Linked DNA regions of Homo sapiens: regions 2, 3, 4, 5, 6 and 7 are each linked to region 1. Evidence: promoter capture Hi-C in 16 types of primary human blood cells and fetal thymus (Javierre and others, 2016). All regions are on one chromosome and are shown on one strand. The core of a region is centred on a gene start or on the middle of the fragment in contact, and the rest is flanking DNA. Distances in the headings are between cores, read along the strand shown. Region 1 holds the start of FBLN5 (fibulin 5). Region 2 overlaps PPP4R3A (protein phosphatase 4 regulatory subunit 3A). Region 3 overlaps LOC101928957 (a long non-coding RNA gene). Region 4 overlaps LOC101928957 (a long non-coding RNA gene). Region 5 overlaps CATSPERB (catsper channel auxiliary subunit beta). Region 6 overlaps CATSPERB (catsper channel auxiliary subunit beta). Region 7 overlaps CATSPERB (catsper channel auxiliary subunit beta).

Region 1 (3,952 bases), core at 703-3,202:
AATAAGGACGCTGAGAGTCCACAAGTTTTCATGTAAGTGCCTGGGTGAGCCAGATTCTAGAACGCTGGAGACAGCTCTGACCTTATAAAGTGCAGAGCCAAATCCCAGGGCTTTTTGATATTTGCCATGGCCAGATTTATATCTGGAAGGAATGAAAGAACAATAACAAATTTATTTTCCAGTCTGTGTATTATGAATTTCAATGTTTTCCTGTTTCTTCACATGAAGTTTCCTTTCAGTTGGTTATAAAACCCTGTCTCGTTTATGTTGGAGAAAGAACAGGCTGACTGCAACACAGTGGACTTCAAGAGCTAGTTGAAAAGGCATGCTAACCCCATCTTTCCCCCTACTCCCCGCAGCCCCATTCCCTTTGGCTAGAGGCAGCCCTGGGACAGGTCTTGCCTCAAGCCCAGCCTCTTGGAAGAGCCACAGCTGAGTCCTGGGGGCCAAACAGGTTCCAGGCTAATAGGATTTTCCTAAAATGAAAGAATACCCAAGCACTACTGCCTCACAGCATCACGAATAGCTGCACCTTGTGATTAAAAAAAAAAAACCCTGGAAACTCCAAAAATGAACTAACTATAAGAATAGCTGGGGGGAGGCAGGTTGGTGCTCATAACCGGTCCTGGGAACTTTCTAAAGCAGGTGGGTTCGCCGGTGTTGTGCCTCAGCCTGAAACACAAGGAAAGCCGGAGAGACCAACCAAATACCAGGACTGCCTGTCACAGAAGTGCTGGTCCCCAATCCAGGATGACATTGTTACAGCTTAGTTTTCAGCACACACACACACACACACACACCCCACAGACACATACATACGCACACAAGGTTAATTTGTTCAAAGCAGTATGTTTTCAAGAGCTCGCTGAATAAAGACTGTGGGTGTCATTTAGGTAAAGTTCTCCAAGACTTAAGGATTACTTAACTGTAATTGCAATTTCCTTAAAGAATAGCAAAACATTTGCTTACATGTATCTCTGTCTGCAGTTCCCACTTCTCATTGGCTTGAAACTTCTGTGAGAATCCCACACAAACATAGAGCAAATCCAGCCCCGCGGTGTTCAGCTAGCCTGTCTGCTTGTCTATCAGCCGATGCGGCGCAGTAATTGCTAGTGAACTAGTAATTGGCCTCCCGAAATTTAAAAAATACATACAAAAATCCCTTAAAACGACAAAGTTGCTGCCCTTTCCAGAAAAGAAAGAGGAATGAAGCGCTGAGAATTTCGCAGCCCTCTCTGATGCTGGCTTTTGAAACTGTATTAGAAAATACCCACTCCCAAAAGAACGCTTCAAGATGGAAATTACAGAGGCGCAGCTTTTTATAATTAACAATATCATTGCATCACTAGCTCATGCCTTTTCCAATATCCTGACACCGCCTGAATCGCAGCCATAACCATTTTCCACCCATCGGATTTTTAGCAAGGCTTCCAGACCCTGGAGAAAGAAAAGTCCAGCGCCGAGAACCCACCTTTTTATTCCTGGCATGTCCAAGACGCGCGAGGAGGAGATGCGAAGGCGAGAAGAAAGCTCGCGGGCGGGACCCCCGGAGGAGCTCGGGCACGTCGGCCTCCTCTGGGCCCTCGGGGCTCGCGGGTGTTTTATTCCAGAGGGGCCGAGCGAGTCGTGGAGAGGACACGGGGAGAGCGCCGGGGTCCTCCCAGCCACTGCAGAGCCCTCAGCGCAAGCACCTGGTTTTGCTTAGCCCTCTTCAGTAATTCAGCATTAAACCAATTGGAGGAGGAATGTTAAAAATGAACACTTCATTTTCTAAGTATGTTAAACAATGCAAATGGGGCCTCAGTCTGGACACAGCTGGTTCAGATTACAGCGCTCACCAACTGGCTAGACTCCTCACAACAATCTTGGGGCGTCTGCCAGGGCCCAGTGCTCGGCGCTGGGAGGAGAGCCCTTCCCCGGCCGCGCTCGGCTGCGAGCGCCCGGGCAGAAGGCGAGGGGCGGGCGCGCGCAGGGGTGCGGGGGCTGGGAGGGCCCGGGCCCCTTGACCTTCCCACCCAGGGGCGGGGCGGGGCTGGCAGCGCGGCCCGGCGGGGAGGGGCGTGCACGCCCGCGCTGCGTGGCAAGGGGACCCGCGAGAACGTTGTCGCCTCCGGAAGGAAAGGGACTTGAACTCACGACCCACGCAGCTCCAGGGACTAGAAACTCACGATCGATTGGGAAACCAGAACCTACGAAGCAGAGGCTTGGGGCGAGCGACGGGAGAGTCGCGATCTTCCCGAAGAAGGGGTGGGGAGCAGCGGGGTGGGGTGGGGGGGAAGAGGATGGAATCCCGCTGGTGCGAATTCCAGACTTCAGCTTGTGCAATGCAAGTCTTAGGACGCTTTTCTCTCCCCGCCCTCATTCCCCGATTCTCCCTGGCATTTTCTCGCTTTCCTGGAAAAGTGTCCCCTGGCTCGAAAGTGATTTTAACAAGTTAAACGGTGATTTGAAGAAGGGACAGTCTGGAAAAGCAGAATGGTGGAGACAGCACATAAGACATGCTGAGTCCTTTGCATTCATTCTAGTGGAGGCTTCAACCTGTTTCTTTTTCCTGTTTGTTTGTTTGTTTGTTTGTTTGTTTTTAAGCCATTGGAGTACTTTTGTCAATGAAATCTTACAGAAGGCACTCACTCTATAAAACGCCAGTGGATGGACTGTGGCCTATCCCATCTGCTTCCACCTGCATCTTCCTACCTGCAGCCGAAAAGCCCTGATCCAGGTCCCCTGTCCTCACCACCACTCTAAGCAGTAGGAATGATCATCTCCATGTTATTAGAGGTGAAGATAAGAGAGGTTAGGTAACCTCCCCATAGTCACGCAGCTATTCATTGGTACAGCTGAGCCTCTGGAGTCTACATATTTAGCCTTCCCTAAGGCATTTTTGGGGGTAAGTAAATGGAATTCTACCCAAAGGAGAATAACAGAATGTGGATAGTTGTTGAAGCTGTGTCCATTATACTAGTCTAATCTATTTCCTTTTACGTGTTTGAAATTTCCTGTAAAACACTTTTTTAAATACCTTATGTTTATAAGGTTGTTCATCCCCCCATTGTTTGTAAAAGCAAAAGATTATAAACACCTTTAAGGTCGATCAGCAAGGCACCAATAGGGTTAAATAAAGTAAGGGGCTTCCAAAGGGACTATTGTGCAACCAATTAAAACCTAGACACTTAAGAGTCCACATCAAACGACTCCATTTATATAAAATTCAAAGTCAGATAGTGACTGGGAGGCAGCCCAGCCCCTTCTGGGTGCTGGTAATAATCTAATGATTGATCTGGATGCTGGTTATGTAGGGGTGTGTACATTTAATATTTGTGAAGTCTTATGTATGTTATATCTTATTTTGAAAAAAAGACTGAAACAGCTCCGTATGCACTGCTATTGAAGGGTTTCCAATATATTTTGTGGGTCAAAACAGTAGAATATTGGTAATTTCACATAGATTGATCTAATATAGTAATAAATGTAAAAAGTAAGCTGCAGAACTGTGTGTAAAGCATGCCATCATTTGTGGGAAAAAAAATAAATACATAAGTTCTTGCTTGTACACGTACAGAAAAGACATCACCTGAAGGATGCACAAGAAACCATGAGTATTATTGGTCTTAGCTCAGGCTGCTATAACAGAATACCATAGACTGGGTGGTTTATGCAATAACATTTATCTCTCCCAGTTCTGGAGGCTGGAAGTCTGAGATCAGGGTGTGGGCATAGCCAGGTTCTCATGAGGGTCCTCTCCTGGTTGCAGATGACTGTCTTCTTGCTATGTCCTCACATGATGGAGAGAGGGAGACTAGGGTTCCTTTTTTTGAGATGGAGTCTCACTCTCTCGCCCAGGCTGGAGTATGGTGGTGTAATCTCGGCTCACTGCAAGTTCTACCTCCCAAGTTCAGGCAATTCTCCTGCTTCAGCCTCCCAAGTAGCTGGGATTATAGGCACGCACCACCGT
Region 2 (3,952 bases), core at 1,054-3,553, 450 kb before region 1:
ATCCTGTCTCAAAAAACAAAGGCAAGGTGCAGTGGCTCATGCCTGTAATCCCAGCACTTTGGGAGGTCGAGATGGGAGGATTGCTTGAGGCTAGCCTGGTCTCATATATAGGATGGTGAGACCCCATACTATATATTTTTAATATAAAATTTAAAAAAGGTATAAAAATCTCCAACTATCTTTGTAGTCTTTCATTATTTTAATTACTAGAATAAAAATTGCATTCTATTATTCTCCACGGAAATCATAAAGTATATAAAGTACATTATGGATCAATATTACTTTTTTTTTTTTTTTTGAGACGGAGTTTCACTCTTGTTGCCCAGGCTGGAATGTAATGGTGCAATCCCGGCTCACCACAACCTCTGCCTCCTGGGTTCAAGTGATTGTCCTGCCTCAGCCTCCTGAGTAGCTGGGCATGTGCCACCATGCCTGGCTAATTTTGTATTTTTAGTAGAGACAGGGTTTCTCCATGTTGGTCAGGCTGGTCTTGAATTCCCAACCTCAGATAATCTGCCCGCCTCGGCAGGCAGGTGGGTCACTTGAGGTCAGCAGTTCGAGACCAGCCTGGCCAACATGGTGAAACCCCGTCTCTACTAAAGACACACAAAAACCTACTTTGAAATACAACTCATATTCTCAGACACAATCTATCTCCATAAAATTACAAAAGTAAAATAGAGTGAAAGAATTGCATTACTTTAACAAATTATATTTCAGAAGATGCAAGATCTCTAATGGCATAGGACCCAACTAGGAAACGCTTCTCTAAAAGTTAAAACTGCACAAAAGTACAACCTATATAAAAGAAAAAATTGGGCATCACAATTAAAAATTTGTTTGTGCTGCAAACAATACCATCAAGTAAAAAGAAAGCCCACAGAATGAGAGAAAAGATTTGGAAAGCATATATCTGGTAAAGGACTTGTATCCGGAATATATAAAGGACTCTTACAACTCAATATTAAAATGTGGGCAATGAATTTGAATAGAAATTTATCCAAAACGGATATACAAAAAACTAGTAAGCATATGAGAAGATGCTCAGCATTAGTCATTAAGGAAATGCAAATCAAACCCACAAATAAGGGCCAGGCACGGTGGCTCACGCCTATAATACCAGCACTTTGGGAGGCTGAGGCAGGTGGATCACTTGAGGTCAGGAGTTCGAGACCAGCCTGGCCAAAATGGTGAAACCCCATCTCTACTAAAGACACACAAAAAATTAGCTGGGCATCGTTGTGCATGTCTTTAAACCCAGCTACTCAGGAGGCTGAGGCAGGAGAATCACTTTAACCTGGGAGGTGGAGGTTGCAGTGAGCCAGGATTGCACCACTGCACCCCAGCCTGGACGACAGAGACTCTGTCTCAAATGAAAACAAAAACCAAAACCACAAATGAGATACCATTTAGTACCCACTAGAATGTCTACAATCAAAGACAAGACAATAACAAGCGGTGACAAGGCTGTAGAGAAATGGGAAGCTTCATACATTGCTTCTGGGAATATAAAATGAGGCATCAATTTTGGAAAAGTTTGGCAGTTCCTTCAAAAGTTAAGCAGTTACCTTGCAATTTCCCTTCTCGGTATATATCCAAGAGAAATGAATACATGCCCAGACAAAAACTTGTACATTTATATTCACAGCAAGGTTATTTACAACAGCAAAAAATGAACAGATAAATTCAATGTGGCATATACTCAGCTACACAGAGTAATGAAAACCTAACACATTACAATATGTATAAACCTTGAAAACATATGAAATTAAAGAAGCCCATCATAAAATACCACATGTCCAGATACATAATGTGTGTGTGTGTGTGTGTGTGTATGTTTTTTTTTAGACAGTCTCTCTGTCGCCCAGGCTGGAGTGCAGTGGCGTGATCTGAGCTCACTGCAGCCTCTGCCTCCTGGGTTCAAGCAATTCTCCTGCCTCAGCCACCTGAGTAGCTGGGACTACAGGCACATTCCCAGTCCAGATAGGTAAATTTAGAGACAGAAAATAGATTAGTGGTTGTTTAGGGCTGGGAGGAAGTGAAAGTGGGTAGTGATTGCTAATGGGCACATGATTTTTTTCAGAGGAGACAAAATGTTCTAAAATTAGATTGTGGTGATGGTTGCAAACCTGTGATTATACTAAAAAACAATGAATTGTACATTTTGAATTGGTGAATTATATAGTATGTAAATACTGTTAAAAAAAAAACAAAAAACAGGTGGAGTGCAGCCTAGGCAATATAGTGAGACCTTGTCTCTATAAAAAAATTTTAAAAATTAGCCAAGTGTGGCAGCGCACGCCTGTAGTCCTAGCTGCTCAGGAGGCAGAGGTGGGAGGATTGCCTAAGCCTTGGAAATGCAGGTTGCAGTGAGCCAAGATCATGCCACTGCACTCCAGCCTAGGCAACAGAGCAAGACCCAGTCTCAAAAAAACAAAACAAAACACACACACACACACAAAAAGGTAAACTGTAAAGTATAAATATTCATACAATGGATACCACGAACAATGTTAATATATGAATCAAAGAGTAAACACAACAGATATTTTACAAACCTGAGTAAAAGACAGCTGAGACAAAGGTATAAACCATAGAATTCAATTTACACAAAGCTCACAAAGTGGCAAAATTAACCTATCATTAGGCTAGCAGTTTTCTCTGGGTAGGATAGTGACTGGGGAGGAACCTGAAGTAGGCTTCCAGAGTAGTGGTTATGTTGTTTTTTCAATGGTGTGCTGGTTATTTTTTGAAAATTCATCAAATTGAATACTTATGATTTGTGTACCTTTTTGATGTATTATACTGCAATTCAAAAGTTTTTTTAAGTTTAAGAAGTCAGAAACACATAGCACAGGGGATTGAGGTTGTTATTCAAGTTGTGCTTTCAAGAAACACACGCCTGATTTTTACAGTCACTAAAACAAAAAACACGGCAGTGCAGTGGTATGACATTGTCAGCCACCTAATCCCTAATAGCAATTATTTCTCAAGTACCAGTCTCTTTTACATTTTCTTCAAAACTCTCTTAGTAGTGTTTACAGGATCAGGATAATAAGAAAGAGGGAAAAAAAGGTTTGACGTACTCCCTTCCAAAGTTCTGGCTAAAACAGGACACACTAGAAGCTTCTAGTGTTGGGAAATGTTTTTCTGGTCTATTCAGGATATTAGAGGGAAGTATCCCCTGAAACTCTCTTTTCAGCCATATCACAGTTTTGGTCTAGGAAGTCCAGCTCTCATCCCCAATACCATATTCCCAAAGAGATAAGTAGGCTATAGAGGCTAGAACACCGGAAAGTCTTTCAACTTGAGGGCTCAGTAAGACAATAAATAAAAGACACAATACTAGGTTTATTCCTAGTCTATTGGGTTTCCCTCCATCACCTAATAGGTTTTATTGAGCCAAGTTATAAACACTAAACCAATCAACTATAACAGATCCAGTTCAGTGTTAATATCAATTAACACAATCCTTACCCCCAACAAGTTTGTTTGTATTTTGTTGCTATAGCTACAGTATTAGGCACAGTAATTCTATCCTACTAAGGTATGGGTATGGATGGGGATATAGAGCTCAACTTTAGGAGAGGAATTTATTAAATAACATGGTAGCAGAGATGACAGGCGAGAAATGATGATCCTTAGCAGGAGACCTCAGCAACATTAAGAGGGAGGCAGAGAAGGTTCTAACTAAGAGCAACATGTTTCTGATAACAGTTATGTCTAGTGGAACTCAATAACTGAAGCACACACTCAAGACAGACCCCATTCACCCCAACTCATTTGAGAAACACATCTATCCTCTCCAATGAAACAGATGCCCTTATCTCCCAAGAGGAATCTTTTATTTACACACACACACACACACACACACACACACACACACACGATACCTTTTCCCACACATCTGAGAAAGACATTGTCACAAAGACCAAGGAAAGGAAATCCTACA
Region 3 (3,952 bases), core at 998-3,497, 420 kb before region 1:
GGTCAGGCCTAGCATAGGGCCTGGGAAAATAATGCTGACCTTTAACTGCTGCTCAGAGAAAGCACAGTGTTCCCATTTCAGTGGTTGAAGGAGGGTCCTGTTTTCATTCTTTATCATCATCTCTCCCTTCATATTTTTCTTTGATCCAACTTCAAATAGAAATTTTCAACCTGAGAAAGTTGATTGGAAAAGAAAAAGAAATAATATTATAAGCCCAAGTTAAACTAAACTAAACAAAAATTTCAAGGCCACCCATGTTAGGAAAAAAAAATGATACCACTGATTTTTCGTACAACAAAATACATGTGCAGTCCCTGTAAGACTGTGTGGTAAGATCCGATCTATACTTGACAAATCAAATCTTGGAACCAGAGTCAGACATTTAAGATCTAGACTGTGCTCAAAAATCCATTTCAGACCAGGTGTGGTGGCTCATGCCTGTAATCCCAGCACTTTGTGAGGGTGAGGTGGGAGAATCACTTGAGGTCTCGAGTTTGAGGTGAGCCTGGACAACAGAAGGAGACCCCATCTCTACAAAAAATAAAAATAAAAATAAAAAAATTAGTTGAGCATAATAGCACAAGCCTGTAGTCCCAGCTACTCAGGAGACTAAGTCAGGTGGATTGCTTGAGCCCAGGAATTTGAGGCTGCAGTGAGCTATGATCATGTCACTGCACTCTGGCCTGGGTGACAGACAAAGACCATGTCTCAAAAAATAAAAAATAAATACATTTCATATAGTCATTGTAGCTGTTAAGAAAAGAGTTTTATAATACGTAAGGAGCATATCAGCAGAAGTTTTTAAGAAAACACATAGCATTTAGATCTCATCCATTCCATCCATGGAAAATGTACCACTACTGCCATTACTTTGAGATTGGAATCAATTGCCCAAGCAAAGATACATTCTAGTTACTATTACTCTGTAACAAAGTCTCTCTAAACTTCGTGGTTTAAAGTAGGCATTTTATTTTGCTCCCAATTTTGTGAGTCAGGTATTGGGGAAGGGTTTTGCTGGGCAGTTCTCATTTGAGGCCTCTCATGTAGTTGCAGTCAGATGTCAGCTGTGCTGCTGTCATCCGAACGCTCAACTGGGCTGTGAATGTCTACGATGAAACACTGACATGGCTTGCAGGGAATACTGGCTGTTGGCTGGGAGCTCAGCCAGGCCTGTCTGCCAGAACAGGTATGCATGGCCTTTTTGAGAGGGGAGTTAGACTTCTACATGGTGGCTGCTTTCCCTACAGAAAGCATTCCAAGAGAACCAGGCAGAAGTTGCATGGTCTTTTCTGACCTAGCCTCCAATGTCACACAGCATCATTTATGCTTTATTTTATTGGGTACAAACAAGTCACCAAAGCCAGCCCAGATTTAACAGGAGGGAATAGAGACTTCACTTCTGATGGGACAAATGTGAAAGAACTTGATAACAAGTTTAAAAATCACCTTAGATGATGTTAACCCATAGAGTTATAAGGAAAGAGATTGCATTTACAGCCAATAATACAAAATAAATTTCAGAGAGGTTGAGGTAGGGTGTAGATTAAAAGAATCAGTTCATCTCAATTCCTTATTAATTTTTTTTTAAATGTAGACACGTGGTCTTGCTCTGTTGCCCAGGCTGGAGTGCAGTGGCATGATCATAGCTCAGGAGTCTTGAACTCCTGGGCTAAAGTGACCCTCTTGCCTCAGCCTCTCAGCTCAGCCTTCTGAGCAACGGGTACCACAGGCATGCACCACTACACCCGGCTAATTTGTGTGTGTGTGTGTGTGTGTGTGTGTGTGTGTGTGTGTGTGTAGAGACAGGGTTTCACCCTGTTGGCCAGGCTGGTCTTGAACTCCTGGATTCAAGCAATCCTCCCACCTCAGCCTCCCAAAGTGTTGGGATTACAGGTGTGAGCCACCATGCGCAGCCCCTTATCTCACTTCCTAACAGACCCCAGAAAGACACTCGTCTGGTTTGGAGGATAACTGGGATCCCCACACAATGTTCTGCTTTCTTCTCTCTGATGCAGACATATTTGCCCACATTGTGAGTGGCAGTCGGGGGTCATGGTTATATGCAGCCCTATACCTCATCCTTCTAAATTTGATGTTCAGGAGTTAAAAGCATTTCTCACCCCGTGACAATCTGAAAAATCCAGGCAGTGTATTTGAGTGGCCTGGCTTTTCTCTAAGTATTACCCTAACCACTGTGGCTGGGGGTAAGGTATAGAATGTTTGCATCATTTAAGGATAAGCATATTCTTCTCAAACACAGAGTTAGAAAGATTATTTGAAATGACAAAAATTAAGTCACAATCATACATTTGATTTGATTTTTTTTTTTTTTTTTTGAGACGGAGTGGAGTCTCGCTCGCTCTGTCACCCAGGCTGGAGTGCAGTGGTGCGATCTCGGCTCACTGCAAGCTCCGCCTCCCGGGTTCACACCATTCTCCTGCCTCAGCCTCCTGAGTAGCTGGGACTAGAGGTGCCCGCCACCACACCGGGATAATTTTTTGTATTTTTTAGTAGAGACGGCATTTCACCATGTTAGCCAGGATGGTCTCAATCTCCTGACCTTGCGATCCGCCCACCTCGGCCTCCCAAAGTGCTGGGATTACAGGCATGAGCCACCGCACCTGGACCATTTGATTTGATTTTAAAATAGCTAAATAAAAATTTTTAATATTTACATATTAACACCATCATCCTTGGCTTCCTATTCTACCTGTATTGGTTTTCAAAAGGTGGAAAAAGAAATTGAGAGTAATGAATGCATGAATGTGTTTGTACATTCAGAAAATACTTATAAGTTATTTCCTTTTTGCCAAAAGATAGATAGTCTGAAAAGATGATCTATCACAAAGAACACCCTGAAAATAAGAAGCCCTTTGTGATCTGGACATCAAAGATATTAATCTGGGTACATTTCAGGACTGGGGGGTCTGTAGGGTGCACACATAAAAGAAAATGCAGATTTAACATGACCTAAAAGGGATCTGTTCTACTCAGATGAGAGCAGGGAAGATGCACACGAGCTTTTACTCCTGACAGCCTTCTCAAAACTTAGGCAGATATGAATTTTATTTTATTATTATTTTTTGAGACAGAGTCTCACTCTGTTGCCCAGGCTGGAGTGCAGTGGTGTGCTCTCGGCTCACTGCAACCTCTGCCTCTCGGGTTCAAGCGATTCTTCTGCCTCAGCCTCCCAAGTAGCTGGGATTACAGGTGCACGTAATCACACCTGGCTAATTTTTGTATTTTTAGTAGAGACAGGGTTTCACCATGTTGGCCAGGCAGTCTGGTCTCGAACTCCTGACCTCAGGGAATCCGCCTGCCTCGGCTTCCCAAAGTGCTGGGATTACAGGTGTGAGCCATCACGCCTGGCCTTTATTTTAAAAGAGAAATCTCTATTTGTATTGCAAATTTTGATATTAGACACAACTCAGAATTCTTAAGAAAAAATCTAAGAAAGAACAAAGTCAAAGCTATGTTAGAAATGTTATTTTTCTCATTTTATAGAAGAGTTTCAGCAAACATCCAAATCAAAAGACACTGAGGGGCTGGATGTGGTGGCTCATGCCTATAATCCCAACACTTTGGGAGGCCAAGGTGGGACGATCACTTGAGCCCAGGAGTTTGAGACCAGACTAGGTAACGTAGAAATCATCTGTACAAAAAAAAATTTTTTTTAAAGACACCGAGAACATAAATGTCAACTCTCAGTGTCTAATTTGGCAGTCCCTCAGCATAGCTGTAAATGAATTTCAGTTTTCTCTTACTTATGGTTAATTTCTTATGAACTAAATCAATACTTATATATTTTATATTTAAAAGACTTACTGTGTCTAAGAGCTGAATTTAGCACTGTCTTGTTGGGTTGGACTGGGCCCTCCAAAATGCAGACATCAAGATGGAATTAAACATGCAAGGATTTTATTAAGGGAAATGCTTGTGTGAAAGGAAATAG
Region 4 (3,952 bases), core at 378-2,877, 380 kb before region 1:
TACCCGGCTAATTTTTTAATTTTTTTGTAGAGACGGGATCTGGCTTTGTTGCCCAGGCCGTTCTTGAACTCCTGGCCTCAAATGCTCCTCTTGCCTGGGCCTCGCAAAGTACTGGGATTACAGACTTGAGCCGCTGCTAACTCTGGCTCTATTTTATTCAATCCTAGGAAACTTTCATGAGATATAGCTAATTACAATCACTTATGCAGAGACAGAATCTATCATAATAGATGCTTCTATAAATAGTTCTAAATTGAGGACCAAAGAGGGGAAAGAGCATTAAAGAGAGAAGGACCAACCACAGTCTGACCCAAAAATATTTTTCCAAGAGAAGAACCTAAGCCATGGTCAGATAAGTTATCTGATTATTTTTCTCCATTGTGATACTCATAATATCATTTAAAATTATTATCAGTTTCTTTGCTACAAGCCTAACTGCAAAATTATTTAGAATAGTTAAGTGATAAGCACATAGTATAGGAAGGGCTCATTAAATGTTTGTGGTATCTTCTTTACCTTTAAAGATAAATGCTTGAATTAAAAGGATAAGCATGAATTTGGCCTTCTTTATTTTTGCTGTAAATTTACAACATAGGAAAAGCATGTGAGTATGAATGATACTAAAGTATTTATAATAAAGCTTATTAATTTTCTGTTCTTTAATCTACATATGATCATGCATAATAATGAATATCTTTAGGTGTGGAGGGCAGAGAATAGAGAACCAACCTAGGAAATTTATAGAGGCTGTTAAAGAAGACATCAACACAATCAATGCATAGATAATATTATTCAAATACATCATCAAAGGAAACTTGTCTGAGTTTCAAAAAAAAAATCTAAAGATACACAAAGTGCTCCCTGGATTCTAAGTGACACCCACTAAAAATAATTTTAATTACAAGGGTAAAGGGAAAAAAAAACTATCAGTATCTGGCAAAAACATGAGTTATTCTCAAAGGAAAGAAATCATTGCTTTCTCATTTTTTCTAGGACAAGAAAAATATCTTTTTAAACCCATATTCTTAACAAAGCAGTTCAGATGAAATATCTTTTTGTTTTTGGTGACCACTATGAAAACAAGCAAATGAAGAGAAAACCTGAACTTGCTAATGGTGTAAACCTTTAACAGGTAGGGACTCTGGGCAAAGATTATTTTAACTAAACAAATCAACATAAAGGCCATTATTGCCAGCTAACATGTTCAGTAATTGCAAGCATCTTTAAGAAAATTCACATTGAACAAAACCAGGAGGGTTTTCTTTTGATTTTTGCTTTTTTTTTAATTTTTTTTTTTTCTGAGACCGAGTCTCACTGTGTCACCCAGGCTGGAGTGCAGTGGCGCGATCTTGGCTCACTGCAAGCTCCGCCTCCCAGGCTCATGCCATTTTCCTGCTTCAGCCTCCTGAGTAGCTGGGACTACAGGCACCCGCCACCACGCCTGGCTAATTTTTTGTATTTTTAGCAGAGACAGGGTTTGACCATGTTAGCCAGGATGGTCTCGATCTCCTGACCTCGTGATCCGCCCACCTCGGCCTCCCAAAGTGCTGGGATTACAGGCATGAGCCACCATGCCCAGCCTTTTTTTTTTTTTTTTTAAATTAGAAAACACCCACATATGGCCAGACATGGTGACTCGTACCTGTAATCCCAGCACTTTGGGAGGCCAAGGTGGGCAGATCACCTGAGGTCAGGAGTTCAAGACCAGCCTAACCAACATGGTGAAACCCTGTCTCTACAAAAATACAAAAATTAGCTTGGCGTGATGGTGGGTGCCTGTAATCCCAGCTATTTGGGAGGCTGAGGTGGGAGAATCCCTTGAACCTGGGAGGTGGAGGTTGCAGTGAGCCGAGATCGTGTCATTCCACTCCAACCTGGGCCACAGAGTGAGACTCCGTCTCAAAAAACAAAACAAAACAAAACAAACAACCTATATTCAAATGCAAAGGAAAGAGGGAAAGACTTTTAAAAAGAAAAAAAAAGACCAACATATAATAAATTACGAATGTCATATGGCAGCAAGCTCTTCATGTTACTTTCCTTTCCATTTAGACCCAGTTAATGTATCTATATTACGTATGTTTAATGTGTATGGACACACACACACACACACACACACACACACACCATAAAAGATTAAGAAGTATGCCTAAATTTTAAGTGGTATGATTTATATTTTTTTCATACTTTTATTTTCTAAATTTTCCAGTTATTACTCTTAGAAAGTTAGAAAGTTAGAGACCAAAAAAACCAATTCCCTTATAATTATATATATATAATGATTCCCCAAAGCCTCTTATTTTGAGTTCTTTCTTTGTATTCATTTTCAGGCAATATTTATTGAGTGTCTAGTCTGTGCCTGAAATGTATTTTATATGAACTTCTCTTATAACAAGATGTTCTTATGTCTTATTTATATTCTCATAGTCTCCCCTGAACCTGATTATAAACAGCATTTTTCTTTTTCTTGTTTTTTCTTTTTCAATCATTTGTTGAATATCACCCATGTGTTGGTCACTCTTTTAGGAAGGCATTAAAAAGAAATGTGACAGAAAGTTAGCACTGTCCCTATTGCAGGGGAGAGATAAGCATGTAAATACCAAAACCGGGCCAAGAAGCTTGATATAGAAATGTGCACCATGCTACCCCACTCAAAGGAGAGAAAGAACTAACTATCAGAGAGAACTGGGGAGAAACTTTTCTACAGAGGTGACATTTCAACTAGGCCTTGAATGACAGGTCAAATGATCTTAGATGAAAAGGGAGGAGGGGGCTGGTGAGAAGGAAGAGGCTGGCAGGGGAGGAGGAGGCTGGCAGAAGAGGGGGAGACTGGCAGGGAAGAGGGGGGTGGCAGGACAGAAGGTTGGCAGGGAGGAGGAAGCTGACAGGAGAGGAGGAGGTTGGTAGGGAGAAAGAGGCTGGCAGGAAGGAGGAGGCTTGCAGGGAGCAGGAGGCTGGCAGGAGAGGAGGAGGTTGGCAGGGAGAAAGAGGCTGGCAGGAAGGAGGAGACTTGCAGGGAGGAGGAGGCTGGCAGGAGAGGAGGAGGTTGGCAGGGAGGAGGAGGCTGGCAGGAGAGGAGGAGGTTGGCAGGGAGGAGGAGGCTGGCAGGAGAGGAGGCGGCCGATGGGGGAGGAGGAGGCTGGCAGAGAGAAAGAGGCTGGGCAGGGAGGAGGAGGTTGGCAGGGAGGAGGCGGCTTGCAGATGAGAAGGCTGGCAGGCAAGCGCTGCGGGCGACCGTGGGTGGTGGGCGGGTTTTCCCCTCAGGCAGGTGCAGGTCCTAAGGGGGCGGGCCCCGTTGGGTGCTCATGACGCAAAGGTCCCTAGGATTTGCTCCTCACAGCGGGAGCGCCCTCGAGAGGAACCGCGTCTGCGCCTCCCGAGACGGACCACTCGGGCGCCTCCGCCCCGCGCCCTGCCTCGGGGGCCGCCCCGCGCAGTGAGCTCAGCGTGGAGGCGGCAGCGCCCTCGCCCTTCCGCGCCCTCCCAGCGCGGTCTCTCCTCGTCCGCGCGCCCCGCTCCCCAGGCGTTTCTGGGATGCTGGTTGGCCGGGCACTTACGTGTTTCAAAGCGGGTGACAGCCGCCGCTCGGGTGTACTGTTCGCTCTCTCCCGCCAGGATCCGAGTTCTTGTTCCCCGACAACTCGTGGGAGTGCCCGCTCCAGCGTGGTTTCTCCTTCTCCGGGAACGGCCCCAGTGAGCAGAAGAGCTGGGTCTGGATTGCATGGCTCTGTCTCCCAGCCATGGTTGACTAATTTAGGGACACTCATGGCTCTGGACTCCTGCAGCCAGCCAGACGCCTGTCTTTGGATTTTTGACTTGGATGAGAGCCCTGTAGCTGGAGGTTGTGGTTGAGAGGGGAGTTTAGTCACATGATGGCAGTGCCTACAGAGATCTGGGTAGGAGGTTCTGCTGCTGTGGCCCCCTCGGTGATGCTGTGCTCAGAGGCCCCTGA
Region 5 (3,952 bases), core at 548-3,047, 320 kb before region 1:
AAATTTAGAAATGAGAAATGTCAATAAAAAAACTAAGTGAATGATATTACATGATTTACTTAGAGAAAATGCAATGATTAAAAGGGTGTTTAGAAAGAGTTTTTAACAGTGTAGGGAAAATGATCATATTATAATGTCCAAATGAAGAAAGCAAGTGGAAAAATGTTAAAATGCATATAAAAAGGACTAATTGGCAGTTCATCAAAGTGTTAACAGTCATAATTTCAATTATCTTAATATTTTTCTGCCTTTTAGGAAATTTCTATACTGAGCATGTATTAACTTTATAACCAGGAAAACAATCTGTTTCTAAAATGTTAGCCTTGCATATCCACATGCAAAAAATTCAATCTAGACACAGATCTTACAATCATCACAAAAATTAACTCTAGGCCGGGTGCAGTGGCTCACACCGGTAATCCCAGCACTTTGGGAGCTGAGGCAGGCAGATTGGTTGAGCCTAGGAGTTCAAGACCAGCCTAGGCAACATGGTGAAACCCTATCTTTACTAAAAATACAAAAATTAACCAGGTATGGTGGCACATGCCTGTAATCCCAGCTACTCAGGAGGCTGAGGCAGTGGGATCACTTGAGCCTGTGAGGTGGAGGTTGCAGTGAGCTGAGATAGTGCCACTGCACTCCAGCGTGGGTGACAGAGCCAGACCCTGTCTCAAAAAAGAAAATAAAGAACTCTAAATGGGCCACAGACTTAAATATAAAATGTAAAACTATAAAACTCCTAAGAAGATAACATAGGAGAAAATCTAGATGACCTTGGGTATGGCAATTACTTTTTTCCCTCAATTAAAAAAATTATGTTAAAATATATGCTATGGTTTTAATGTATTCCTCAAAGTTCATGTGTTGAAAACACAATTTCCAATGCAAGAGTGTTGAGAGGTGGGACTTTTTTTTTTTTTTTTTTTTTTTTGAGACAGAGTCTTGCTCTGCCGCCAGCCTGGAGTGCAGTGGCGCCATCTCAGCTCACTGCAACCTGAGAGGTGGGACTTTTAAGGGGTGATTAGATCATGAGGCTTTGCCCTCACGAATGGATGAATGCCATTATTGCAGGAGTGGGTTAATTATTGTGTGAGTGGGTTCCTGATAAAAGAATGAATTCAGTCCCTTCCCTCCCCCTGTCTTTCTCTCTCTCTTTTGCACATGAGTGCTTCATATGCGTGCTCACATGTGCTCACCCTTCTGCCTTCCACCATGGGATGACGGAGCATGAGGCCCTCACCAGATGTGGGCCCCCCAGTCTTGGATTTCCCACCCTCCAGAACTGTAAGAAATAAATTTCTTTTCTTTATACATTACCCAGTCTGTGATATTCTATTATAGCAGCATGAAACAGACTAAGAAGATACACCTAACAAAATTTACCATCTTCATGCAATGACTGTTGAATACAACACCAAAGACACAATCCATGAAAGAGAAAATTGATAAATTTCTCTCCAGTTTTCCTAAACACAAGTAAAACCATTAAGTAATTTGGATAAAACAGTGGATTACATGAACCAATTTATGAACAAATAGTTTATAAACAAAATATACCAAAAATAGCTAACAAACATTTGATTAACATTTGGTCGACCTCATTTGTAATAGAAGAAATTGCAATTACAACAATGGGATACAATTTTTAACCAATTAGTAAAGATTTTTAAATGACAGTGTTAAGCAGTGAACACTGAATTTGTGTTAAAAATACATGCTATGGTTTGCATGTATCTCTCATTAGTAATTGGTACCTTACTAAAATTACAAACTTACACTCTGAAATATCCTGTCAAGAGAATTAGAAGACAAGCCACATACTAGGAGAAAATATTTTCAAAAGACATATAAAGGACTGTTATCCAAAATAAACTGTAGGGGAAGGGAGAAGAAACCTCTTTTTCCTCTATTCTCCTTGGTTCTGTAACTGAGACCCTGACAATTATACTGACAAATACAGATTAACAAGAGAAAAACAGGTGGAATTTATTAACATGTGCATTGTGCTTACATGCAGGAAAAACAGCAGTGATGAGTAGCTAAAAAGGGTAGTTAGAACATGGGGCTTCATAACAAATTTTTAGAGAAGTGACAAGACAAAGAAAAATGGGCTTAGGTTTTTAGGGTCAGCAAACTGTGGAAGGTAAATAAATGGAGGGAACTAATGGAAGATAAGGGTTGTTTTGAGAAGGTTTCTTCTGTAAATTCTTTGTGTCTCTGGGTTTATTAATAGTCTAGAGTTGCTTGTGCCTGTAATCCCAGCTACTCTGGAGGAAAGCCTGAGGCAGGAGGGTTGCTTGAGGCCAGGAGTTGGAGACCAGCTTGGATGCAACATAGTGAGATCTTGCCTCTAAAAACATTTAAAAATAAAATAAACTAGCTGGGTGTGGTGGCACATGCCTGTAGTCCCAGCTACATGGGAGGCTGAGGCAGGAGGATTGCTTGAGCCCAGGAGTTCGAGGCTGCAGTGAGCTATGATTGCACCACTGCACTCCAGCCTGGGTAACAGAGTGAGAATCTGTCTCTAAAAAGAAAAAAATATATATTTATATAGTCTAGAGTTATCTTCAGTGATTAAGAATCATTCTGCCCTTTCTGGTGGGAGGGGGCAAAGAGTTTTTCTTGTGCTTGTTTTTCCTTAATTTCCTTCAGCTCAAATAATCTTTATGCCAAAGTGGCATATTCTTTGTTTTTTTGTTTTGTTTTGTTTGGAAATTGGAGGTCTCACTATTTTGCCCAGACTAGGCTTGAACTTGAGATCCTCCTGCCTCAGACTCTGTAGTAGCTGCACCTACAGGCACACACCACTGCATGGTTCTGGGTTGGCATAATCTGATCTCCTACAATACAAAAATCTCTAATAATATAACAATAAGAAAGTGTACAACCTGATTTAAAAAATGGGCCAAAGACCTTAACAGATACCTCACCAAAGAATATATGCAGATGGCAGGTAACTATAGCAAAAAATGTTCTACATCATATACTGATATGGTTTGGCTCAATGTCCCCACCCAAATCTCATCTTGAATTGTAATCCCCACGTGTCAAGGGAGGGACCTGGTGGGAGGTGGTTGGATCATGGGGGCGGTTTTCCCCATGCTGTTCTCATAACAGTGAGGGAGTTCTCATGAGATCTGATGGTTTTAAAAATGGCAGTTTCCCCTGCACTGTCTCTTTCTCCTGCCGCCATGTAAGACGTGCCTTGCTTCCCCTTCATCTTCCACCATGGCCTCCCCAGCCATGCAGAACTGTGAGTCAATTAAACCTCTTTCCTTTATAAATTACCCAGTTTCAGGTATTTCTTTATAGCAGTGTGAAAACAGACTACTGCATATGTCATCAGGGAAATGCAAATTAACAATGAGATACCACCACATGACTATTAGAATGGCAGAAATCCAAAACACTGACAACCCAAATACTGGTGAGTATGTGAATAATAGGAACTCTCGTTCATTGTTGATAGAAATGGAAATGATACAGCCAGTCTGGAGGACAGTTCAGTCATTTTTTACAAAACTAAACATACTCTTAGCATACAATCAAGCAAAATGCCTTGGTATTTACCCAAATGAGTCGAAAACTTATATCTATACAAAACCTGCAAATAGGTGTTTACAGAAGCTTTATTTATAATTGCTAAAACTTGGAAGCAACCAAGATGTTCTTCAGTAGGTAAATGAATAAATAAACTGCGGGATACTCAGATGATGGAATATTATATGATTCAGCACTAAAAAAGAAATGAGCTATCAAGCCATGAAAAGACATGGAGGAAATTTAGATGCATATTACTAAGTACAAGAAGCCTCTGAAAAGGCTATATACGGTATGATTCAAACTATATGACATTCTGGAAAAGGCAAAATTATGGAGACAGCAAAAAGATCGGTGGTTGCCAGGGGTGAGGGGAAGAGAGAGTTGAAGAGGCAAAGCATAGAGAATTTTT
Region 6 (3,952 bases), core at 586-3,085, 290 kb before region 1:
AATCTTATAGAAATCAGTAAGAAAAGTAACTCAAATCAAAACTTCATTCAAAAAAGACTTGAAAAGAATTTACAAAAAAGGATATAAAAATGAACACATGAAAATATACTTAACATTATTACTCATGCAAACTAAATCTTCAGTGAAATACCATTAGGCTGGGCACAGTGGCTCATGCCTGTAATCCCAACATTTTGGGAGGCCTACATGGGCAGATCATTTGAGGTCAGGAGTTTGAGACCAGCCTGGCCAACAAGGTGAAACCCTGTCTCTACTAACAATACAAAAAAAAAAAAAAAAATTAGCTGGGCATGGTGGCGGGTATCTGTAATCCCAGCTACTCGGGAGGCTGAGGCAGGAGAATCGCTTGAACCCGGGAGGCGGAGGTTGCAGTGAGCTGAGATCATACCACTGCACCCCAGTCTGAGCAACAGAGCAAGACTCTGTCTCAAAAAAAAAAAAAAAAAAAAAAAAAAAAAAAAAAAGAAATGCAGCAAGAGGCAAGAGGGAGCTTTCTGGAATACTGGAAACGTTCAACATTGTGCTCCTAACAATATTCACAATTACTTTCATTTATTTCACAATCATATAAAGTCTGATCACCAGAATCTTAGGTTGACACAGCTGCTGTCTCAACACATGATTCAGACATACAAACCACATGGATTAATCTTGATACTGACATAAGTTAAACAAAAGCTTTATTGACAGAATAGAGAATAAATAAACTGAGTGGTGAAGATCTGGAGAAATAGCATCAGGATTTTGTGGTCTGTCCTTATTCTCAAACAAGGAAGGACCAATAGAGGAGATTGTATAACTGTAAAACTGCTTTTGCTGGTGAACATCAAGGACAAAATATTGAGGCCTGCAAAACCATGCTTTTTGAAGTTATATCAGAAACTTCGTCATTTAAAATCGTATCAGAGACTGAAGATCAGAAGAAACTGGAGATCAGAAGAAATTTTAAACTATACAATAAAAAATGCTGTGTGTTAAAAACAACAAACAAAAAAACACAGCCTCTGTCTTGTCTTGGTGACAGTGTTTTTCTAATTTCTGTTAGACCTAATAAGATATCTCCAAGTCTACCTCAATCTCAAAAGTTACCCAATAATCTATAATAGTTCATTGTTGAGGCAATATTGAGAGAAGGAAGGTAAATCAACAAAATCCTGAAGGCTCTCGGTTATACCCTTCTAACAAGTAAGAAGGTGTATTGGTCCCTTTTCATGCTGCTGATCAAGACATGCCCGAGACTGGGCAATTTACAAAAGAAAGACATTTAATTAGACTTACAGTTCCACATGGCTGGGGAAGATCTCACAATCATGGCAGAGGGTGGAAGGCACTTCTTACATGGTTGCAGCAAGAGAGAAATGAGGAGGAAGCAAAAGCGGAAACCCCTTATAAACCCATAAGATCTTGTGAGACTTATTCACTATCATGAGAATAGCACAGGAAAAACCAGCCCCCATGATTTGATTACCTCCCCCTGGGTCCCTCCCACATGTGGGAATTCTGGGAGATACAACTCAAGTTGAGATTTGGGTTGGGACACAGCCAAACCATATAAGAAGGTGACAGTGGATGAGAAGATATCAAAAGGAAAAGTAAAGGGAAAAATCAAGCCCTCATAAGTGAAGCCAGGTTTACCACTTTCCAAGGCACTTTACTGAGTTGAGAAAATGGGTCCAAGTCCTATCTAAATGAGGTGAAGCAGATGGGTCTCAAGAATAATTCACCTACACTATGTTAGAGCAAATAGAAGATCTGACCAGTGCTGCACCTTTAATGATGAACTTGATGGAAACAGGAAGAGTGGGAAGAACAGAAGAAGAAGGAAGGAAAAGGGATAAAGAAGGAGGTGGGTGAGTAGAGGAGGGGAGTAGGGAAGATTAGAAAAAGAGGGATTATAGAGAGGAGGCAGAGCAAGATGGCTGAATAGAGCCTCCAGTGATTATCCACCCCTGCAGGAACATCAAATTGAACAATGATCCACACAAGAAAGCACCTTTATAAGAACCAGAAATCAGCTTGGGTACCAGCTTGGCCACAGTGGACAATTCACGAAGTGGGCTCCTGGGGTCTCTGATTCCAGGACTTGGCTCTTGTGTGGCATTTCTAAACCTGCCCTGGGCCAGAGTGGGGCCACTGCCCTGAAAGGAGAAATCCAGGACTGGCAGCATTCACCAGAAGCTGACTGAAGAGCCCTTGGACCTTGAGTGAATAGTGGCGGTAGCCAGGGGGTAATTGCCATGGGCTTGGGGTGGTGGTGGCCATGGAGAGAGACTGCTCTGCTTCAGGATAAAGGAGGGAAGAGTAAGAAAGACTTTGTCTTGCAGCTTGGGTGCCAGCTTAGCCGCAATAGAATAGAATACCACATAGACTCTAAGGGTCTCAACTTCCTTGGCTTCCAGATGGCATCTCTGGACCTAGCTGGGGCTGGGGGCAACTCACTGCCCTGAAGGGAAGATCATAACCCTGGCTGGACTCATCACCTGCTGATTATAGAGCTCTTGGGCCTAGAGTGAACATAGGTAGTAGCCAGGCAGTGGAAACTGTGGGCCTTGGGCAAGACCTGGTGCTGTGCTGGCTCTGGGTTTGACCCAGTGCAGTCCTAGTGGTGGTGGCTACAAGGGTGCTTGCATCACCCCTCCCCTAGCTCCAGGCAGCTTAGCACAGAGAAAGAGACACTATTTGTTTGGTGGAAAGTAAGGTAAGAGAACAAAAGTCTCTTCCTGGTAATACAGTCTCTTCCTGTAATACCTGGTAATACAGTCTCTTCCTGTAATACCTGGTAATACAGGTAATACAAGTTCTCCTGGATCTTACATAAGACCACCAAGGCAGTACTTCTACAAGTTGGCAATAGCCAAAGCATTACTGGGCTTGAGGTACCTCCTAATGCAGATTCAGCTGCAGTGAGCAAAGACTTAGATCACAACACTCAAGTCCCTTTGAATACTTGGAAAGCTTTCCCAAGAAAGACAGGTACGAACAAGCCCAGACTGTGAAAACTAAAATAAATACCAAACTCTTTAATCCCCAGACACCAATCAATGTCCAGAAGCATCAAGACCATCCAGGAGAACATGACCTCACCAAAGGAACAAAATAAGGCACCAGAGACCGATCTTGGAGAGACAGAGATATGTGACCTTTCAGACAGAGAATTCAGAATAGCTGTTGTGAGAAAACTCAAGGAAATTCAAGATAATATAGAGAAGGAATCCAGAATCCTGTCAGATAAATTTAGCAAAGAGATTGAAACAATTAAAAAGAATCAAGCAGAATTCTGGAGCTGAAAAATGCAATTGACATACTGAAGAATTATCAGAGTCTCTTAATAGCAGAATTGATAAAGCAGAATAAAGAATTAGTGAGCTTGAAGACAACCCACTTAAAAATACACAATTAGAGTAGATGAAAGAAAAAAGAATAAAAAGGAATGAAGCATGCTTGTAAAATCTAGAAATTAGCCTCAAAAGGGCAAATCTAAGAGTTATTGGCCTTAAAGAGGAAGTAGAGAAAGAGATAGGGATTGAACATTTATTCAAAGGAGTAATAACAGAGAACTTCCCAAACTTAGAGAAAGATATCAATATCCAAGCACAAGAAGGTAACAGAACACCAAACAGATTTCAGCCAAAGAAGATGACCTCAAGGCATTTAATAATGAAACTCCCAAAGGTCAAGGATAAAGAAAGGATCCTAAAAGCAGCAAGAGAAAAGAATCAATAACATACAAAGGAGCCCCAATATATCTGGCACAGGCTTTTCAGTGTAAACCTTACAGGCCAGGAAAAAGTGGCATGACGTATATTTTTTAAAACTTTTATCCCAGAATGGTATATCTGGCAAAAATATCCTTTAAACATGAAAAAGAAATATTTTCTGAGATAAAAAAAGAAACCTGAGGGATTTCATCAACACCAGACCTGCCATATAA
Region 7 (3,952 bases), core at 595-3,094, 280 kb before region 1:
AAATTAAAAATTAGCCAGGCATGGTGGCATGAACCTGTAGTCCCAGCTACTAATCAGGCTGGGGCAGAGGATCGCTTGAGCCAGGAGTTAGAGTCTGTGGTGAACTATGATCACACCACTGCACTCCAGCCTGAGTGAGAGTGAGACCATCTCAAAAGAAAAAAAAAAGAGATATGAAACCTCAAAATATGCCACTTTTGGCCAGGCGCAGTGGCTTACGCCTATAATCCCAGCACTTTGGGGGGCCGAACTGGGTGGATCACTTGAGGCCAGGAGTTCGAGGCCAGCCTGGACAACATGGCAAAACCCTGTCTCTACTAAAAATACAAAAATTAGCTGGCGTGGTGGCACACACCTGTAATTTCTGTTACTTGGGAGGCTGAGGTGGGAGAATCTCTTGAAACCGGGAGGCAGAGGTTGCAGTGAGCCAAGATCGCTCCACTGCACTCCAGCCTGGGTGACAGGGACCCTGTCTCAAAACAAAAAAATGCCACTTTTATATAAGGATAATTTTAAGCTGAAGACTGTTGAGATTCAACAGATGCAGAGAAAAAACTTTGGAGCCTTTTGTGTCTGACTAAAAGCAGGAACTGCTGGGAAATGAGGCTGACAGAAATTCCTCCTTGGGGCAGATCTACTCCTAGAAGGAAGAATGTAAATAAAACCTGTCCCAAATCCCTTCTCCAGAGGAGTTTTATACCCCTGAAGGAGAAGGAAAGACCACTCATACCTAGATTTACAAACATTATCAAAAACTTTCATATCTCCTGGCCAGGCGCTGTGGCTCATGCCTGCAATTCCAGCACTTTGGGACGCCAACGTGGGTGGATCACTTGAGGTCAGGAGTTCAAGACCAGCCTGGCCAACATGACAAAACCCCATCTCTACTAAAAAATACAAAAATTGACCAGGTGTGGTGGTGGGCACCTGTAATCCCAGCTACTTGGGAGGCTATGGCAGGAGAATCGCTTGAGCCTGGGAGGCAGAGGTTGCAGTGCGCCGAGGTTGCAGTGAGCCAAGATTGCACCATTGCACTCCAGCCTGGGCAGCAGAGCGAGACCCCATCTCAAAAAAACCCCAAAAAACCAACCAACAAAAAAAAATCGTATCTCCTGTTTGCTGTCCTGAAAACCCATTTATCTTTTTTTCTTTTTTTTTAAAAGCAATTTGTTTTTCCATAAATGGTTTTCTCCCTTTCCCCTTCACCTATTAAGATGGTACCTAACCGTCCAGGCTCGGTGGCTCACGCTTGTAATCCCAGCACTTTGGGAGGCCGAGGCGGGCAGATCACGAGGTCAGGAGATCGAGACCACGGTGAAACCCTGCCTCTACTAAAAATACAAAAAATTAGCCAGGCATGGTGGCGGGCGCCTGTAGTCCCAGCTACTCGGAGAGGCTGAGGCAGGAGAATGGCGTGAACCCGGGAGGCGGAGCTTGCAGTGAGCCGAGATTGCACCACTGCACTCCAGCCTGGGCAACAGAGGGAGACTCTGTCTCAAAAACAACAACAACAACAACAACAACAACAACAAAAAGATGGTACCTAACTTCCAAATTTTAACCTCATCACTGAGTTTCCCATGTGTGCACACTGCACATGTAAATAAACTGTTTTCTCCTATTAATATTTTTTTTTCAGTTTAATTTGCAAGGCTCCACTCATTGAACATACGAAGATGGAGGAAAGAGCTTTTTCCTTCCCTACAATCTTGACGATAGGGGCCGAACTTATGGTTTTATTTGTTTGTTTGTTTTTTTGTTTGCTTGCTTGTTTGTTTTCTCAGACTGGATTTTGCTCTGTCACCTCACCTGGTGTGCTGGAGTGCAGTAGTGCCTCACTGTGGTTTTGAAATCCTGGCCTCAAGCCTCCTGCCTCAGCCTCCCGAGTTGCTGGGATTACAGGCATGAGCCATCACAACTGTCAGTTTATGTGTTTTTTAATGGCTCTAAGAAGAATTCTAATTCACAGGTAGGGTTAAGGACGTTTGGAAGAAAAAAATATAGATCTGTGGCAATTACTTCCATTTTTTTTTCTGTTTAATTAACCATTTTATGGAATCTTAAATTTGTATAGAAAAATCCCAGCTTATATTCTTTAGAGAATTAGCAAGGGAGAATCACTATGCATACAGCATCACGTTTTCCATTTTCATCAAAATGAATGACGACCAGGTGAGAAATCTCTAAAGTGTCAAGCTATATTATTGATTTTAAATAATTTTGCTATAGCCAATTTTATAGGTTCTATTGCCAGACATAACAAGAACTTGAAAATAACTTTTGCTAAGGTAAATTTTTATTGTTGTCATGTCAAGATAAATTCCCTCTGGGATATAAGGCCTACCTTGTTATAGAAGAGGTAAACTCCAGTACCACGCTCTTGGTCAACAAGAAATGTTAGCACAGTTGGAAAAATTTTTATTCCTTTAAAAATGTGAGGTAAGCAGGGTACCCATTCAAGAAATGGTTCCTGACTATAAAAACAAGAGCTTGACTATAAAAAAAAGAAGGGAAAAATTAATGCTGTTTTTGAAATATAAGTTCTAATTCTCTTAGTGAAACTAGCCCACTTGTTCATAGAAGTAATATTTACAGTTTTTTGAACAAACATAGAAATTAACCTTCCCTCCCTGGTCTTAAAACCCACTGGTCTTTAAACTCCCTGGTCTTAAAACGTTTTTCTCATCTGAATTCCTTCTTTAGGAAATCGACCCTTAGGCAAGGAACTGAAACTCAACGGATCACTGCACCCAGATAATGAGAAGTCAGACTCCTCATCCATCATGATTGCTTCTTCACCCATCTCTAATTCCTGTTTTCCTACCTTCCTTTCTGTGTAAATCCCCCAATTTTACTCAGAGAGACAGGTTTGAGATTTTTATCTACCATTCTCCTTGGCTGCAGCACCTGATTAAAGCCTTCTCCCTGGCAATACTTGTTGACTCAGTGACTGGCAGTCTATACAGCAAGCAGCAGGACCTAGACTGAATCCCTGGTGTTTTAGTAACAGTAGGAAAATAAATTAACAACCATAGTGTTGCTCTGACTGATCACAATTGTTTTTTAAAAAATCCTTAATGTGGCTGGGTTTGGTGCTCACGCCTGTAACCCCAGCACTTTGGGAGGCCAAGGGGGGTGGGTCACGAGGTCAAGAGATCAAGACCATCCTGGCCAACATGGTGAAACCCTGTCTCTACTAAAAATACAAAAATTAGCTGGACATGGTGGAGCGTGCCTGTAGTCCCAGCTACTTGGTATGCTGAGGCAGGAGAATTGCTTGAACCTGGGAGGCAGAGGTTGCAGTGAGCCAAGATCATGCCACTGCGCTCCAGCCTGGAGACAGAGCGAGACTCTGTCTCAAAAAAAAAAAAAATCCTTAATGTCTGTGCCTCTCTTCTGAGGGATATGAGCCCAGAAAACATTGCAATGCATGTCTTTCTGGTACGAATTGTTTTTCTAGAACCATTGCTTAGGTCCTGATTAACATAATTAGGTAAGTACTAATAAACCCAAGTAGAAACACCACTGGGAGCAAAGAGTGATTGTGAAGCCTTTCAGTCTGTAGAATTGCCATTTTTTAGATTAATCCCAATCCATGAAGTCCCCAATCCCACAACAAAATTTCTTAACTTATAAAATATTCAATATCATACCTCACTTAGGGTTCTGTTTCTCTCAAAGGTAACTGTAACATAATCAACTGTGAAATAAATACAAGGGTACAGGAATTATGAGCATATCTGTATTTCTAAAACTGGAAGGGTTAGTCTTAATAGTCTTCATGAAAATCATAGAAATTATTTTTGCAAGTAAACTTATGGTAAATGAAAATAATAATAATAATAAAAGTTATGTATCATCAAGTAATGTATACTCAAATCTAATTTTCTTATCCCTATTTCAAGTGTACCTATTGTCTCAGATTTAAATTAGAATGTTTTTTATTTTAGGC

What was found. Contacts are between HindIII fragments. The CHiCAGO score rates a contact against its expected background, and 5 or more counts as called.
Region 2: a fragment that was not itself captured here is called in contact with the fragment with the promoter of FBLN5 in region 1 in 4 of 17 cell types (megakaryocytes, endothelial precursors, M1 macrophages and 1 more); the score reaches 5.8 in megakaryocytes.
Region 3: a fragment that was not itself captured here is called in contact with the fragment with the promoter of FBLN5 in region 1 in 2 of 17 cell types (M1 macrophages and megakaryocytes); the score reaches 5.7 in M1 macrophages.
Region 4: a fragment that was not itself captured here is called in contact with the fragment with the promoter of FBLN5 in region 1 in 3 of 17 cell types (M2 macrophages, megakaryocytes and M1 macrophages); the score reaches 7.6 in M2 macrophages.
Region 5: a fragment that was not itself captured here is called in contact with the fragment with the promoter of FBLN5 in region 1 in 5 of 17 cell types (M1 macrophages, M2 macrophages, megakaryocytes and 2 more); the score reaches 9.6 in M1 macrophages.
Region 6: a contact is called between a fragment that was not itself captured here and the fragment with the promoter of FBLN5 in region 1, in 8 of 17 cell types (M2 macrophages, M1 macrophages, M0 macrophages and 5 more). The highest score is 13.6, in M2 macrophages.
Region 7: a contact is called between a fragment that was not itself captured here and the fragment with the promoter of FBLN5 in region 1, in 3 of 17 cell types (M2 macrophages, M0 macrophages and M1 macrophages). The highest score is 7.5, in M2 macrophages.

What each region holds. Positions count from the first base shown.
Region 1 is chr14:91,945,742-91,949,693 of GRCh38, forward strand. FBLN5 (fibulin 5) reads right to left here and starts at 1,953. Exons shown (of 11, transcript NM_006329.4): 1 at 1,472-1,953. The coding sequence starts at 1,488. The HindIII fragment of the contact is 8,571 bases long and covers 1-3,952 here.
Region 2 is chr14:91,493,492-91,497,443 of GRCh38, forward strand. The region is part of intron 1 of PPP4R3A (protein phosphatase 4 regulatory subunit 3A); the gene reads right to left. Among named protein-coding and RNA genes, the nearest start is that of PPP4R3A, 15 kb to the right of the region's middle. RefSeq lists enhancers at 1,368-1,517, 1,999-2,208. The HindIII fragment of the contact is 1,641 bases long and covers 1,484-3,124 here.
Region 3 is chr14:91,526,624-91,530,575 of GRCh38, forward strand. LOC101928957 (a long non-coding RNA gene) reads right to left here. Exons shown (of 4, transcript XR_007064306.1): 3 at 40-170. Among named protein-coding and RNA genes, the nearest start is that of PPP4R3A, 18 kb to the left of the region's middle. The HindIII fragment of the contact is 6,884 bases long and covers 1-3,952 here.
Region 4 is chr14:91,570,846-91,574,797 of GRCh38, forward strand. LOC101928957 (a long non-coding RNA gene) reads right to left here. Exons shown (of 4, transcript XR_007064306.1): 2 at 3,558-3,952. Among named protein-coding and RNA genes, the nearest start is that of PPP4R3A, 63 kb to the left of the region's middle. The HindIII fragment of the contact is 1,978 bases long and covers 639-2,616 here.
Region 5 is chr14:91,625,453-91,629,404 of GRCh38, forward strand. All of the region lies in intron 17 of CATSPERB (catsper channel auxiliary subunit beta), which reads right to left. Among named protein-coding and RNA genes, the nearest start is that of CATSPERB, 100 kb to the right of the region's middle. The HindIII fragment of the contact is 3,656 bases long and covers 1-3,625 here.
Region 6 is chr14:91,652,221-91,656,172 of GRCh38, forward strand. All of the region lies in intron 15 of CATSPERB (catsper channel auxiliary subunit beta), which reads right to left. Among named protein-coding and RNA genes, the nearest start is that of CATSPERB, 78 kb to the right of the region's middle. The HindIII fragment of the contact is 2,277 bases long and covers 698-2,974 here.
Region 7 is chr14:91,670,523-91,674,474 of GRCh38, forward strand. CATSPERB (catsper channel auxiliary subunit beta) reads right to left here. Exons shown (of 27, transcript NM_024764.4): 12 at 3,654-3,700; 13 at 2,345-2,494. Among named protein-coding and RNA genes, the nearest start is that of CATSPERB, 60 kb to the right of the region's middle. The HindIII fragment of the contact is 5,418 bases long and covers 1-3,952 here.